Regions from separate parts of the Homo sapiens genome. Here all the other regions are linked to region 1. The links are contacts of gene promoters, found by promoter capture Hi-C in blood cells and fetal thymus (Javierre and others, 2016). All regions are on one chromosome and are shown on one strand. The core of a region is centred on a gene start or on the middle of the fragment in contact, and the rest is flanking DNA. Distances in the headings are between cores, read along the strand shown. Region 1 holds the start of BBS12 (Bardet-Biedl syndrome 12). Region 2 overlaps TRPC3 (transient receptor potential cation channel subfamily C member 3). Region 3 overlaps TRPC3 (transient receptor potential cation channel subfamily C member 3). Region 4 overlaps TRPC3 (transient receptor potential cation channel subfamily C member 3).

Evidence for each region. Contacts are between HindIII fragments. The CHiCAGO score rates a contact against its expected background, and 5 or more counts as called.
Region 2: a contact is called between a fragment that was not itself captured here and the fragment with the promoter of BBS12 in region 1, in 11 of 17 cell types (total CD4 T cells, non-activated CD4 T cells, total B cells and 8 more). The highest score is 9.9, in total CD4 T cells.
Region 3: a contact is called between a fragment that was not itself captured here and the fragment with the promoter of BBS12 in region 1, in 6 of 17 cell types (naive CD4 T cells, total CD8 T cells, naive CD8 T cells and 3 more). The highest score is 12.4, in naive CD4 T cells.
Region 4: a contact is called between a fragment that was not itself captured here and the fragment with the promoter of BBS12 in region 1, in 1 of 17 cell types (total CD4 T cells). The highest score is 6.4, in total CD4 T cells.

The regions. Positions count from the first base shown.
Region 1 is chr4:122,730,731-122,734,334 of GRCh38, forward strand. BBS12 (Bardet-Biedl syndrome 12) reads left to right here and starts at 1,974. Exons shown (of 2, transcript NM_152618.3): 1 at 1,974-2,154. It also overlaps the pseudogene CETN4P. RefSeq lists a silencer at 1,644-1,863 and an enhancer at 2,224-2,433. The HindIII fragment of the contact is 1,306 bases long and covers 1,228-2,533 here.
Region 2 is chr4:121,880,342-121,883,945 of GRCh38, forward strand. TRPC3 (transient receptor potential cation channel subfamily C member 3) reads right to left here. Exons shown (of 12, transcript NM_001130698.2): 11 at 2,013-2,088. Among named protein-coding and RNA genes, the nearest start is that of BBS7-DT, 11 kb to the left of the region's middle. The HindIII fragment of the contact is 810 bases long and covers 1,510-2,319 here.
Region 3 is chr4:121,896,879-121,900,482 of GRCh38, forward strand. TRPC3 (transient receptor potential cation channel subfamily C member 3) reads right to left here. Exons shown (of 12, transcript NM_001130698.2): 10 at 2,734-2,817. Among named protein-coding and RNA genes, the nearest start is that of BBS7-DT, 28 kb to the left of the region's middle. The HindIII fragment of the contact is 5,104 bases long and covers 1-3,604 here.
Region 4 is chr4:121,926,182-121,929,785 of GRCh38, forward strand. All of the region lies in intron 2 of TRPC3 (transient receptor potential cation channel subfamily C member 3), which reads right to left. Among named protein-coding and RNA genes, the nearest start is that of TRPC3, 24 kb to the right of the region's middle. The HindIII fragment of the contact is 235 bases long and covers 1,790-2,024 here.

The sequences.
Region 1 (3,604 bases), core at 724-3,223:
GTGCAACTAAAGTTAGAATTATAATCCTAAATTATCACATAAGTTATAATTACATATAAATTATAATTATAAAAATAAGCAAAATCTACCTGAAGTTCATCATGTTAAATTTTCCCCTGGTTTCTTAGCAAACCTCTTGATACCGGTTAGTATTATACTTCCAGTATCATCATCATCAAATAATTTGAAAGTCTTCAATATTTCTTCTTTTTCATCTTTTTTACTCTTTTAAAAAAGAAGCAACTATCCAGTCTTTCATTTATTTATTTTATCAAGCTGGACTTAATTAGATCTTTGGGGTCTAAAGCAGCAATGTGCCAAGTAGCTGTGTTCTGATTTTATTTATTGGTCTTTTAACAATTATGTACTCACACCTGCCCTCAAGGTGCTTAAAGGTAGAGCTTGCTAAGGTGGAGAAGGCACAGGGTGGTCCAGAATGCATCTCTTATTAAACCTCATAATTCAGATCCGTTACCAAAAATGTAAGCTTCAAAATGGAAGGTTGTATCTTTCAATGCTCCTTAGAATAGTGCCTGGCAAAAATAGGCATTCAATATATGTTGCTGAATTAAAGGCTTCCAAATTCTGGCCCCATTCTCTCTATCCTGCAATATAGCCTCATTATTTCCTGACAAAAACCTCTTCTCCACATCATAGTCTTCTCATTACTACCCTGAAAACATATTTAATCTTGCTCTTCCTATCTCCCATCCTTAAAAACCTAGTTCTAATTGCTTCTCTATAAAACTTCTGATTGCTCCAGCCCTAAAATGTAGCAGGTTATTGCTAGTATTTCTTTGAAAAATAAAATCATAACTATATCATTTTTATACTCATAATGGCAAAAAAAAATCTTCAAAACTAATGGTGCCAATTCCTTCTTTATCAACTTCAGCTACCATTTTTTAAATTTCTTCTTTCTTTGGTTCAAATCCTAAGGCCCACACTGCAATCTGAAATAGGAAGAAAAGGAATTATAATATGCCATGATTTCTTTCTAAGCTTTTTAACTCCCTATTAAGAGCTTCTCTCTTTTCTATTATGGACTGAGCATAAACAGAAAATTAGGTCAGCAGGCCTGTGTTTCAGTCCTACTGTGCCATCATGTACATCACTGTTACACCCTGGGCTTTTGCCTACTCATTTATAAAACACAATTAAAATGCTTAACAAGATATCGTTTTGCTAATGCAGGGCAGGCATATGCACTGAAGAGACTTTATATTAAGCTTTCAGAAGACTACTTTTAAAGAAAGCCTTAAAGATTGCCACAAATAATATGGTTTTTAAAATGATTTAGAATTAGAAATAATTTCAGAACCTTCTTTTACATCGATGGTTCCAGACCCATCAATATCAAATAAATTAAAGGCGTCTTTAATTTCTTGCTTTTGGGATTCATTCAGTTCAATTTTTGCTGCTCTTTTCTTCCATTGGTCTGAACTTGTATGGTAGTTAGATGCCTGTAATACACACACATATGGGTGAAAGATAAATTATATAACTGGAATAGTTAGCAGAACCAGAATAATTGATGATAAACTATATTAAAGTACCTATTTCCTACTATAAAATGAATCTCAACAGGAGTAAGGAAGGAGTGCAGTTGCTGCCAGGGGCAGCCTTCCTTGCTCTGGCGGAAAAACTTCGGCCCCGGCCCCAGCAGAAGGTTACAGCTTCACACTCACCAGGTCCCCAGCCGGCAGCCGGCGCTCTCAGCCGGGACCTCCCGGCGTCACCTCCCGCAGCCCCGCCCAACCCAAGTCTTCACAGCTCACTGGCGGTTGCTAAGGCCGCTCTCACCGACCTCTCTCAGCCCCGCCCACCCAGCCTGAGTTATTGACATCCAGTTCATCCAATGGACAGAAAAAAAGGCCTTTAAACCAGCCCTTTCTCTCTACTCCCTACCAATAGCGTGACGTCCCCGCCTTTCGCAGCCCGGCGTTAAGCGGAACTTCTCTCTCCAGCTGTGTCTCTTAGCAACTAAGCCCCCGGCTCCTCCAGAAGCCCCTCTTCGCACATGCGCAAACTGCGGACGGGGAACTGGGCTCCCTAGCCCTGGCGTTTTTGGTGTTGCTGTCCCAGCCAGAATCGCGTCTGGCCGGTGGGAAGCCGGGAACTCCAGCCCCCTGTAGGAGAGGAGAAAGGAGCGAGGTTAGTAGTGAGGTGCTTCCGCTGACTGCTAAGCTAAGTCTTTCCTGAAGACGTGGGAGCCCGTGTGTTTGATTTTTCTGTCCTCTTCGGGCCAGGGAAAGAATGAGAATCTAGGGCCTGGAGGTCCTGGGGTGAATTGGTCCAGCATGTGGCTAGGAGTACTAGAGGAAGAGGGGACTGCCCTTTCTTTTTGCCGCTAGACTTTCCTCATTTTCTACAGTGCCTGGAGCTGGGCCTTCAGCCATTTACCTCCTCCCTGTTTTGGGCAGGGATTCTGGCATGGTAGACACCAGAATTCTGTATAGCAGTGGCATGGGGTAACAGTGTCGTTGGAGGGACGTGGGTATTGGGATAAGCATGGGTCTTGGGATGTATTTAAAGCTTCACTACATACATAGATAAACGTTTTTACATGTTTCGTGTAGCATTTGTTTACGAGGTAGGACTTTGGCCCCACCCATAATTACTATCGGACCCCGCCCTCCAACCCCAACACACACACACACACACACACACACACACACACACACACACACACACATCCAGCCATTTCCTTGGCCCAGTCCTAAGATTTGGCCAGTTGTCAACGATATCAACTTGATCTGCACTTCAGAGTCAGACACAGGTAGTCTGATTATCCAGTTGATTCAGTAACGGCCTAGATTTAGATACTTGTGAAACTTTTGTAAACCAACTCAATCTCTTGTCCAGAGGGCCAGATTTACTGCTTCTGCCCGTTCTGAATTTGGCCAGGAATCAGCTTAAAGGACAGGGGAGAAAGACTGAGGTAGGATGGACCACTGACTTCCTGGTGGGAATGAAGGAATGAGAGAATCTTAAAACTTCTAACCTTTAATTGCTCACACATGCGGACCCCTTTTATGCCTCCTACAATGTCTTCTCTAGAGGAAATATTTTCTAAAAATTATACTGGATTCTTCAAAAATGGATTCAGGAAGAATACTAACTTTAGTCTTTTTTTTTTTTTTTTTTTTTTTGTCTCACTTATCTTCCTGAAGGCAGGAGAGGAAAACAAGTGCAAAGTGCATTCTTGAAGCACTCTGTCAAATCACTTTTCATGCTTCATTGAGTAGAAACATGGCACATTTTCCAAAGCCATCAGCCTGTCTTGTTCATATTATATCCCAGACAGACACGCAAGTATTGTAATCATTGATAAAAATCTCATTAGGCTTCTGGAAAATAGGTAAGTTTATCCTCATATTGCAGGTGATTTTTCCATATAAAGTTACCCAGTGAAAATTAAAATGGCACAAATCCAAGATAATTTTTGAGTTAAGTAAAATGTGGTCACTTTAATATATGATTTTTCACGTCATTTATCTCACTTGGAAAGTTGCTCTTGATCAGTTTCAAGGTCATACACTTTTTTTTTTTTGAGACCGAGTCCTGCTCTGTCGCCCAGGCTGGAGTGCAGTGGCTCAATCCC
Region 2 (3,604 bases), core at 665-3,164, 850 kb before region 1:
GCAAATATGAAGTAAGGGAAAGAAAGAAAAAAGAGTAAGGAGTGTTTATTAGGGAAGGCAATGGCAATGGACATGAAGACATTAGTTTGTCCAGCACAAAGGACTAATGCGTAAGGAAGTAACAAGCAACAGTGCAATTGAGGAGTTTAGATATGATACCACTGACAATATATTCCTGAAGAGAATAGGAGAGTTTGGGCTATAAAAATAAATTGCTCCCATAATTCAGTTTGGCAGTATTTTGAGCATACGTATATTGCAATTAAAAACTGGATTCTCTTCAAGGAGAGGCAGTATTTGGTTAAAAAAGAAAAGAAAAGAAACACTGGATTCTCTTGCAAGTGACCGTAATGTAGATAAACCACTGACCTTCAAAAGTGAATGTTGGAGCAAGAATTTACCTTGAATCTAAGAAATGATTCTTCAAACCATTGACTTAGGTTTTTATAATAAAATGGCATTTAAAACACACCTTTGATGATATTTCCTGGTATCTTTAATATGCTTTAAAGTATAATTTCAATATTCTTCTATTATATAAAAGTCAGAGCATTTTTATTTGAAAAGAATTCTAACTCAGGAATACACACAAAACATTTGAGGAGCCCTTTTGTGGCAAAAAAAAAAAAAAGTGCTTCCTTTGGCATATGGCAATATAAAAGGAATAAACTGATCTTATTTGAAATCATGAGGCAGACTTCAGTGGAAGGAGTGGATTCTCACACCATTCAGTACCGCAGGAGACCCCCTGCCCTACTTCACCTTCTACTATCCTTTCTTCCTTGTCCCCGACTCATGGGGAGACTACAACCTATGTGTTGTATTAAATATTTAATCTGCCAATTCAGGAAACACAAGTTACTCAAACTCTTCAGATTTTAGTTTCCTCATTAATTAAATGAGGAGATTATATGACACATTTTCTTAGTAAGAACTTTGTTCAAAACTCCAAATTCTCATTGATTTTCCCCTTTTGTGCAAGGGCTTGGGAAATGCTTCTTGTTTTTTATGCCGTTTTAGCCATACAGTTCTTCCCACTTTGTTCCTCCCTCTCCACCCCCCATGGAGATTACGGTACAACTCATCAGACTTCTGCTTTCTAAACTACAACCTCATTCCAATCCTTTCTCCTGAGACAGATTGATTAGGTCACCATGATTAGATTTTTGCTAGTTATCGATTATAAATTCACAGGTTTCTCTTCTACATACATACACTATTGGATTGATTTACATTTAAAATGCATTCCTTGTATTAATCAAGTAATGGCTTCAAAGCCTATGAACAATTTTATTAAGTTTAGTCCTTTCCTCTTTTATCAGTGTAGATAGATTTAGTGGCATCTCATTGGTGTTGGAAGGTACAGTTTCCATTTTTAGGGCAACTTATTTCTCCCTGGTTGATTTCTTTCCAACTCTGGGCCTGTGTTTAGCTCTACATCCTAGACTTTGGTAAAAAATTTTTATAGTCCAGAGAGATGCCCTGCCTCAAATATGCCTTAAAAAAATAAGCTTGCTTAAAGTAAGGAGGCAGGGGGGAAAGTGAAATTCAAAAGAGACGCACCAGACAAGAAAAACAGGTTAAAAATGTGTTTCTGAACAATAAAACAGAGGTTTTCCTGAAGACATGAATTCTGTTTGAGTCACTGTTCTTTTATCTGCTTAACTGGAAAAATGTTAACACTAATGTGAACTCATTGAAAATGTAACCAATACTTACTGACTACCTTATGTCAGAAGGATTAAAAAACTCCTAGAAAGATGTCAGTCTTTACATTCTAAGAATCAGTTAGGGCACTATGAGTAGAGATAAATTGCCTCTGATCAATATTGTAAATAACTGTTTATTTTAAAAGATGAAGTTTTAGAAACGTAACATAAGATCCTCCTCCCATCTTAGAGGCATCCAAACTATAACCTGGGATTGGATTTTTAAAATATGCCTCAACATTAAGTTTTCCAGGTTCATTAAGTTAGCTATAAAAGGATATTTTTTAAGTTGGAGATGCTTACCTTCATTAACTTCATCATTTTCTTTGTCTACTTGTGCTTTCAAAACATACCGCTTTATAAGTCTTTTCATTATCTGCTGTTGGGCAAAAGTAAATGATTAGATCTCCAATGATATACATAAGTGCCCCAATCCTATTTTCCAAAGAGGCTTACATACCTGTAAAGCAAACAACTCAGGGGAGAAAAAAATTTTATAACTATGTATAGAAAAATTACGCAGGTTTCAGAACTTAACTCTCTTAATGCCTTCTACTGAGACTTACTGCATAATCCACCAATACTTTTTTTTTGCCTCAGAAACGGAAGAAGCTTTTAAAAAGAAGTTAAGCTTGAAGATTTGAATTCATGGCTCCTCTTTCAACTAATAGTTTCTTTTTAAATTACATTGACACCACATTATCACCCATAGACACTACCTTATTTCCCAGTATTTAGAAAAATACATCAATGTATACTCTATATAGAGAATTTGGAAAATATACAGAAGAACAAAATAAACAAATGAAATCATTGGCAACCTCACCAGCCAAAGATAATCACTGTTTTCATTTTGGTGTATGCCCTTCCAATATCTTTTCTTTAAAATTTGTATATATACTAATTACTGTAAGTATTATATTTTATGTTTTCTAAATGCCATATATTTTGTTATATTGCATACGTTTCTCTAATAGCAATATATGTGACTATTTTCAGTCTAAATAAATGCTCTTCTAGGATAACTGTTTACCCATATGGAAAAAATTAAATTGGAGCCCTATTTCATACCATGAACACAAAAATTAATTCCATTTGCATCTTAAATGTGAAAGACAAAGCTTCTGAACCCTTAAAAGAACGTATTATATAAGAGAGTATATTTATAAATTTGGGGTAGACCTGTATTTTTAAAAAAACAAGATTAAAACTTCTGATTACAATAGAAAAGACTGATAAATTCAACTTCATTACAATTTAAAATTTCTGTTTAAAGAGATACTATAAAGAAAGTGAAAAGGCAAGCCATAAACTGGGAGAAAATATTGGTAATGCTTGTAATTAAAAATAATTTATATCCAAATATATAAAGAACTTTAATTCAATAAGAAAAACTCAAATAACCCGATTTTAAAATGGGCAAAAGACAAACAAATGTTTCACAGAAATGGAAACGTGAAGGGTCAACAAGCTTAAGAAACAATTTCAAACTCTGTTGCAGGGAAATACAAATTATGACTAAAAGGAGACACAATTTTACATCTAATAAAGAGAACGATTAATAAATCTGGTTATGCCAAGTGTTAGAAAGGATATGGATCAATGGGGACTTTTATATTTTACTGGCAAGACTGCAGACAACTTTGAAGACAATTTAGTACTATCTTTTTAGTTTTTAAATTGATTTCTATTAACAAAATTTTAGAGGTGGAGTCTCACTATATTGCACAGGCTTGCCTCAAACTCCTGGGCTCAACGCTGTCCTCCTGCCTCAGCCTCTCAAGCAGCTGGAGCTATAGACATGACCCACTGCATCCAGGTGGTATTATCTTTTAAAGTTGAACATTTACATACCCTTTCAGCTAGAAGTCCACTTCTCAGTAAAAGGCCTAGAG
Region 3 (3,604 bases), core at 523-3,022, 830 kb before region 1:
CGGACCTTAAAATATATTACCAGGCTGTAGAAACCAAAACTACACGGTACTGGCATAAAAAGACACATAAACCTATGGAACAGAATTAAGAACTCAGAAATTAATCCATGTGTCTATAACCAACTGAGTTTTTACAAAGATGCCAAAAACACTCATTGGGAAAAGGACAGTCTCTTCAATAACTGGTGCTGGGAAAACTGGATATCCATATGCAGAAGAATAAGACTAGACTCCCACTTCTCACCTTGTATAAAAATCAGGGCAAAATGGACCAAAGACCTAAATGTAAGACCTGAAATGATAAAACTAGTAGAAAAAAACATAGGAGAAATGCTTCAGGACACTGGTCTGGGAAAATATTTTATGAACAAGACCTCAAAAGCAGAAGTAACAAAAGCAAAAATAAACATATGGGATCATACCAAACCAAAGGCTTCTTGGTTTGGTTCATACCAACAAAGGAAAAAACAACAGTGAAAAGACAGCCTACAAAATTGGAGAAAATATTTGCAAATTGCTCATCCAATAGGGGATTAATATCCAGAATATACAGGGAACTCAATCATCTCAACAGCAAAAAAAAAAAAAAAAAAAAAAAAAAAAAAAAAAAAAAATTCCAATTAAAAATGGGCAAATAATCTGAACAGACATTTCTCAAAAGAATACATACAAATGGTCAATGATATATGAAAAAATGCTCGACATCACTAACCAAACCACAATGAGGTTATCATCTCACTCCAGTTAGAATGTCTACTATCAAAAAGACAAAAAAAAAATGCTGGTAAGAATGCAGAGAAAGGGAACTCTAATATGTTGTTGATGGGAATGTAAACTAGTACAACCATTATGTAGAACAGTATGGAGGATTTTCCAAGAACTACAAATAGAGCTACCATATGATCCAGCAACCCCACTACGGGAATTTATCTAAAGGAAAAGAAATCATTATATCAAAGAGACAACTGCACCCACATGTTTTATTGCAGCACTATTCACAATATTCAAAATATGAAATCAACCTAGGTGTCTAACAGCAGATGAATGTATAAAAAATGTAGTATATATACACAACGGAATGCAATTCAGCTATAAAAAAGATTGAAATCCCATCATTTGCAGCAACATGGATGGAACTGGAGGACATTATGTCAAGTGAAATAAGCCAGGAACATAAAGTTAAGCACCGCATGTTCTAACTCATAAACTCATATGTGGAAGCTAAAAAAAGTTGATCTCACAGAGGTAAAATGTAGGACGAAGGATACTAGAGACTGGGAAGGGTAAGGGGTAGGGAGGGATATGGAGAGATTTGTTAAAGGATACAAAATTACCGCTAGATAGGAGGAATAACTTCTAGTGTTCTACACCAGGAGTCCCCAACCCGCAGATGAAGGACTGGCATCTGTCCGTGGCCTGTCAGGAACCAGGCTGCACAGCAGGAAGTGACAGGCTGGCAAGCGAGCATTACCGCTTGAGCTCCACCTCCTGTCAGATTAGCAGCGGCATTAGATTCTCCTATTATTGTGAACCCTATTGTGAACTGCACATGTGACAGATCTAGGGTGTGCACTCCTTATGAGAATCTAATGCCTGAAGAGCCTGAAGATCTGAGGTGGAACACTTTCACCCTGAAACCATCATTCCACCCCATCTGTGAAAAAATTGTCTTCCACAAAACCGGTCCCTGGTGCCAAAAAGGTTGGGGACCACTGTTCTATACCACTATAGCATGACCATAGTTAACAATGATATATTAATATTATATAGTTTCATATAGCTAGAAGGAGGATACTGAATGTTACCAACACAAAGAAATGATAGATGTCTGAGATGATGGATATGCTAATTACCCTGATCTGATTCCTACATATGTATCAAAACATCACTATGTAGACAATGAGTAAGTATAATTATTTATCAATTAAAAATAAAGTTAGACAAAACCAATAAAACAAAAATAAACAAATATGTAAAATTTACAAAAATTTTCTTAAAAAAAAGACTTTGACAATCAGTGGGCTGAGCCATTTTGTGGTTTCCTGCTTCTAAAAAAATTGGATAAAAAATAGAACAATACGCAGTAACGGACATCACCAATATATTATAAATTCCTTGATCGTCACTTTTGTGAACTTATACACATTAGAAAGTCAAAGACTTGATGATCGAAATGATCAACGAGATGAAAAACAAAGGGCTATAACTTCCCCTGAGTTGGAGAATAGTGTTCAAATGTCACATCCAGTATCAAAATGCAAAAGATATTTTAAAGTAGCACTCATGAAACAGTATAGCCAAACAATCCATTTAAAAAATGGATCACCTGAAAGAAAAACCTAGAGAAAAAACAAGTTTTCCTGCCATGGGAGCATTATTCATTCTAACATACTCTGTCTTCTACTGCTTTCTCCAGTTTAAGTTATACATTATTTGGCAATTGTAGCAACACTTTGCTTTCAATATTGTGAGAGGAACTCTTAGTTAAAAAAATGAAGGACTTGGACTCTGATTTCTAAAGTCTCCTCCAACTAACATACTATTTTCTTTTATTTTTAATTTTTTTTTAAAAAATTTCACAGGTGTTGAATCATTTTCTTTGTTCTGAACTATCCTCATGGTATAATGGTATATCTCAAGAATATAACTCAACTCATGACACACACACAAACACACACGCAGACATATATGGAATCACATAGAGATCAAGAGATACGTCTAATGAATGCTTACCTGATAACGTGTTGGCTGATTGAGAATGCTGTTAAAACTGTGTGATTCAAAAACTCTTGAGTTAGACTGAGTGAAGAGGTTTAACTAGGAAAAAATACAATTAACCTAGTAAATTAGAATACATTCATTTGGAATAAAAAATATAATCCATTTATTCTCCTTGATAACATTTCTGGAGTCAACATTCCCAAGAAACATTTTGTGGAAGTTGAGCTTTGTAAGTGATGTAATATATTCCCAAAGGTTAAAATTACTGTGAGCAATATGCTCACATTTATCAAAATGTTGGCAGGATGTACTACTGTAATAGAACTATTTAATGGAAAATATATGTTAAAAATTGGCTCATAATAAACATAATTTTCCCTGGGGACCTTGTATACTTTATCAAAATGTACTCAAGGCATCTAGAAGGCCAAATTCCATAGAAGTTTGATCTGTTCCTGAGCCTAAGTTCCTCTTCTAGATTTGAATAGAAACATATTGCAGGTTCAGATGGCACCATTTGGTATTTTGCAGCCCTAAAATATTAGCCAAAATAACACATCTTCCAAAGCATCTTGGCCTTATGCTAAGCCAGGTTCACAATTTTGGAGAGAATTGGGCTAAAGAATTTTGGTTTCCTTTTCTTTTCTCTCTTTTTCTTTTTAAGGTTTAGCTTTTGAGTGGGTAGGAACAGGAAGCAAGAGGAACACACAGGTAATACCTAGTCTTCATGTATACGAGCAGGGCCTCTTATCTGTGGCCAAGCTCTGCCACTGTAAGGTGTGATTCAAACACATGGCCCTCTAGCCAAAGAGATGATTTACCTCACCACCTAACTTCCCACCATTATAACTCAGGAAGGTGTGGGATGCTAAGAGATAAGGAA
Region 4 (3,604 bases), core at 657-3,156, 800 kb before region 1:
CCTTACACAAAAAATACCTCCGTGAGGACATCTGCCCAGCAACTGCCTGTACAACTTTGGACTGGCTCCGCCTTTGTTATTGTTCCGGGAGTGTAACCCTCCTCACTTTTCCTTTAAAAACCTTGTCTTTCTTTACCTCCCTGAATACACACATAGTTTACCATGTCACTTGTATTTCCACTGCAATGTTATATTCCCAAATAAATATGATTTTCTATTTTTTTGTTTTCTTTTTTTTTTTTTTAGATGGAGTCTTGCTCTGTCATCCAGGCTGGAGTACAGTGGCACGATCTTGGCTCACTGCAACCTCCGCCTCCTGGGTTCAAGCAATTCTCCTACCTCAGCCTCCCGAGTAGCTGGGATTATAGGCATGTGCCACCACACCCGGCTATCTTTTGTATTTTCAGTAGAGATGGGGTTTCACCATATTGGCCAGACTGGTCTTGAACTCCTGACCTCAAATGATCCACCCACCTGGGCCTCCCAAAGTGCTGGGATTACAGGCATGAGTCACCGCACCCGGCCTCATTTTCTTTTAGAGAACCTCTCTCTCTGTTATTTAGGTTGACAGTGAAAAATAACTTGTCCAGTTCATTATCCCTTGCCTTACTGGAGACATTGCTTCTCAAAGTGTAGTCCTCAGACCAGCAGCATCAGCAGCACCTGGGCATGTGTTAGAAATGCAAATTCTCAGACCCCAGCCCACATGTCCTGATTTAGAAACTGAGGAAGGGCCCAGCAATCTCTGTGTGTTTTCACACACCCTTCAGATGATTCTGATACATGTTAAGTTTGAGAATAACTGGTTTATAGCGAATGTAGAGAGGTAGATGGATACCCACCTGTATACAGAGGGTTTTTTGTTTGTTTGTTTGTCTGAAGGGCATATTACTGTGCCCTGCAGAACTAGAAGAAGAGAAATATATCACTGTATGTAACTGAATTCTCAAGGGTTACAGAATTCAGTACCTGAGAGAAAAATTTCCAGGCCACTGGAACTAACACATTGCTAAAAATAATCCGTGAATCTTTAATTTCATTTGCATATTTATACACTGCCATGGACTGCCATAAGGAAGTCAGCTGGTAGCATTCCTTGTTGCCTTCTGAATGGAGCTTTATTTCTAGTCCATTTGTTCTAATGAAGGTGTCAATGACCATCTCCTGAGAAAGTATCTCATTTTTGGAGACTCCAGTTCTACTTTTATGACTTTCACTAAAATTCTAGCCTATTAGGAAAGGTAACCAGATAATAATCTAATGTGAAATGCTTGAGGAAAACAGAATTTCCCATTGTAACATGTCCTGAGACATTGTATGTGTCCATATTACTAAGTAATATTTGGCTCAGCAGAATTACTGGGCTTCCAAAAATCATACTTTAAAAAAGACATGTGAAAAATTTCAATTTTTTTCCTTTAAATAATTAACGTGATTTGATGAGCAAAACCACGTCATCAGCTAAAATAAACAAGAAGAAGAGAGACTGTTTAAAGGCTACACAGATTAGAATAGTTTCCATTTCAGATATGAGAAATTCAGATAAAGAACAGTTACAGTTAATCCTTTTCCCTTCGTAAGGGAACAGATAAAATGAATAAAACTTCAATCTTTAGTTTCCATTCAAGTTGGTACCATGCAACTGATAAAATTAATAAAATGTTCAGTCTCTGGTTTCTGTGCAGAGTGTCAGTTAAATATCCATCTGCTTTCCATTCCTGAAAGACTAATGAAACATTTTATTATAGCATCCAGAAGAAGTATTAAATCCATGCCTGTTTCCATATAAAGCTTCCCTTTTAATATAATTTTTTTAGATGAAATTTCCTCATGTTATTCTTCAGTTCAGACTGTTCTGTAAGATTTGGTACAACATAGGGTGGTTATTTCTCCACTGATCAGAAATAAAAAGAGGCTACCTTCCGTGCTTTGAAGAACACTTAGTACCCACATCTGTAGTAATACCTAAATAATGACTCATTACCTATAAAATTATAGTCTATAAACTGTTTAGTTTTAAGGAAAGCTTTTTTCACATCCACTGAAAGATCAATAAAGATAAAAAAACTGATAATCAAACATGTTGCAAGGACAGCACTACTTGTTTTTATAACAATTTAAACATTTCCCACTTGAAGAAGTCTGTTGCCAGAGTGCAGAAAATAATCAGAGCTGGAGATAATGGTGATTTCTTTTGTTATAGTCATTGGATACCATTTTTTAAACCTATGCAGAGTTCCGTGGGAAAGATGGAGAACTCCAGCTAAGAACAGCCTCTCTTCAGCTGCAAAAGCAACCATCTATGTAAAGTTCACATTGACTGTTAGTTCCACCTTGAGGCCGCATTGACTGTTAATTCCACCACGTTACTTCACAGATCAGACCATTTGTCTGGTCTACATTTTCTAATAAGTTTATCTTAAGTTAGTTTTGCATAATGGTCTTTAATATACTGCTCATCTATTACCACAGCCCTCCACAGTTAGCTGGTGGACCTACTGCACACCTTATAGAGCAGAACTTAAAACCCTAAGGATCTGCTCAAGCCAGAGGAAGAACAATGAAGTTCAGTCTTCATCACAATCTATCTACAGGTTCTGCACACTCCTTTTAATGTATATGTTTAATTACCATTCTAATCCTTTTTTATCCTGAAGTGGAAAACTGAAATTCAACTCTTAACAGGCTTGGTTCTGTCAGGCTCTTTCCCTAATAACAAAAGAGGCAAGTTATCATACTGATTAAAAGCATAGAGTCTGAAGCCAGACTTCCTGGGTTCAAATACTGCTTTACCACCTACTAGCTGTGTGATATTGTGGAATTCACTTTACCTCTCTGACATGAATAATCCTACCCAATATTGGTACTATGAGGATTAAATGCTTAGAATGTGTTTGGTACAAATTAGGTGCTAAGAAGTGCTTCAATATTACCAGGTACATTATATTAGATATAATACCTACGACTGGGACTCAAGACACTCAAATCTAGGCTTAACATATGAAATGTTGCCTACAGCCTTTGTTTTCTCTTTTACAAAGTGAAAGATGATTCCTAGAGTATTTTCCTGCTATAAAATGTCACCTTGCTTTTGGATTATATTCATTTTTTTTCTTCCTTACAGCTGTAGTGTGATATAAGGTGAAATTGTTTTTTTACTTTAAGGAGAGGAAAACTGAGGCACAGGGAAGCAAACGCCTCTCCCTACTTCTTTATTTTTACAAAAAAGGTGCGTCATTGACTCAGTCAGAACTAGAAAATTTCAGTTTGCGTCCTCACAGCTTAATAAATGACTGGCTTCCTTGCCACTGACATTTTGGAGGATTAGACCAAGAGTCTATCTTTCCAATATTCTGTTTCTCAGAATAGCTTCAAACAGCATTTGCACATCCAAAATATTTCTTTAATAACCTGTCACCGAGCTATCCTCCATTAATTTATCTAAATCTGTATCCTAGAATATTTGACCTCTTAGGGTATTGACCTTCACATGTTTTAAACACCATACCTACTGTATTCCTCAAAGAAATGTGAAAACTGCAGAGTGGCTGAGAATCTTCTCTGAAGCATCTAAATAATGGCAATTTCGGGGGTGAGATACTAG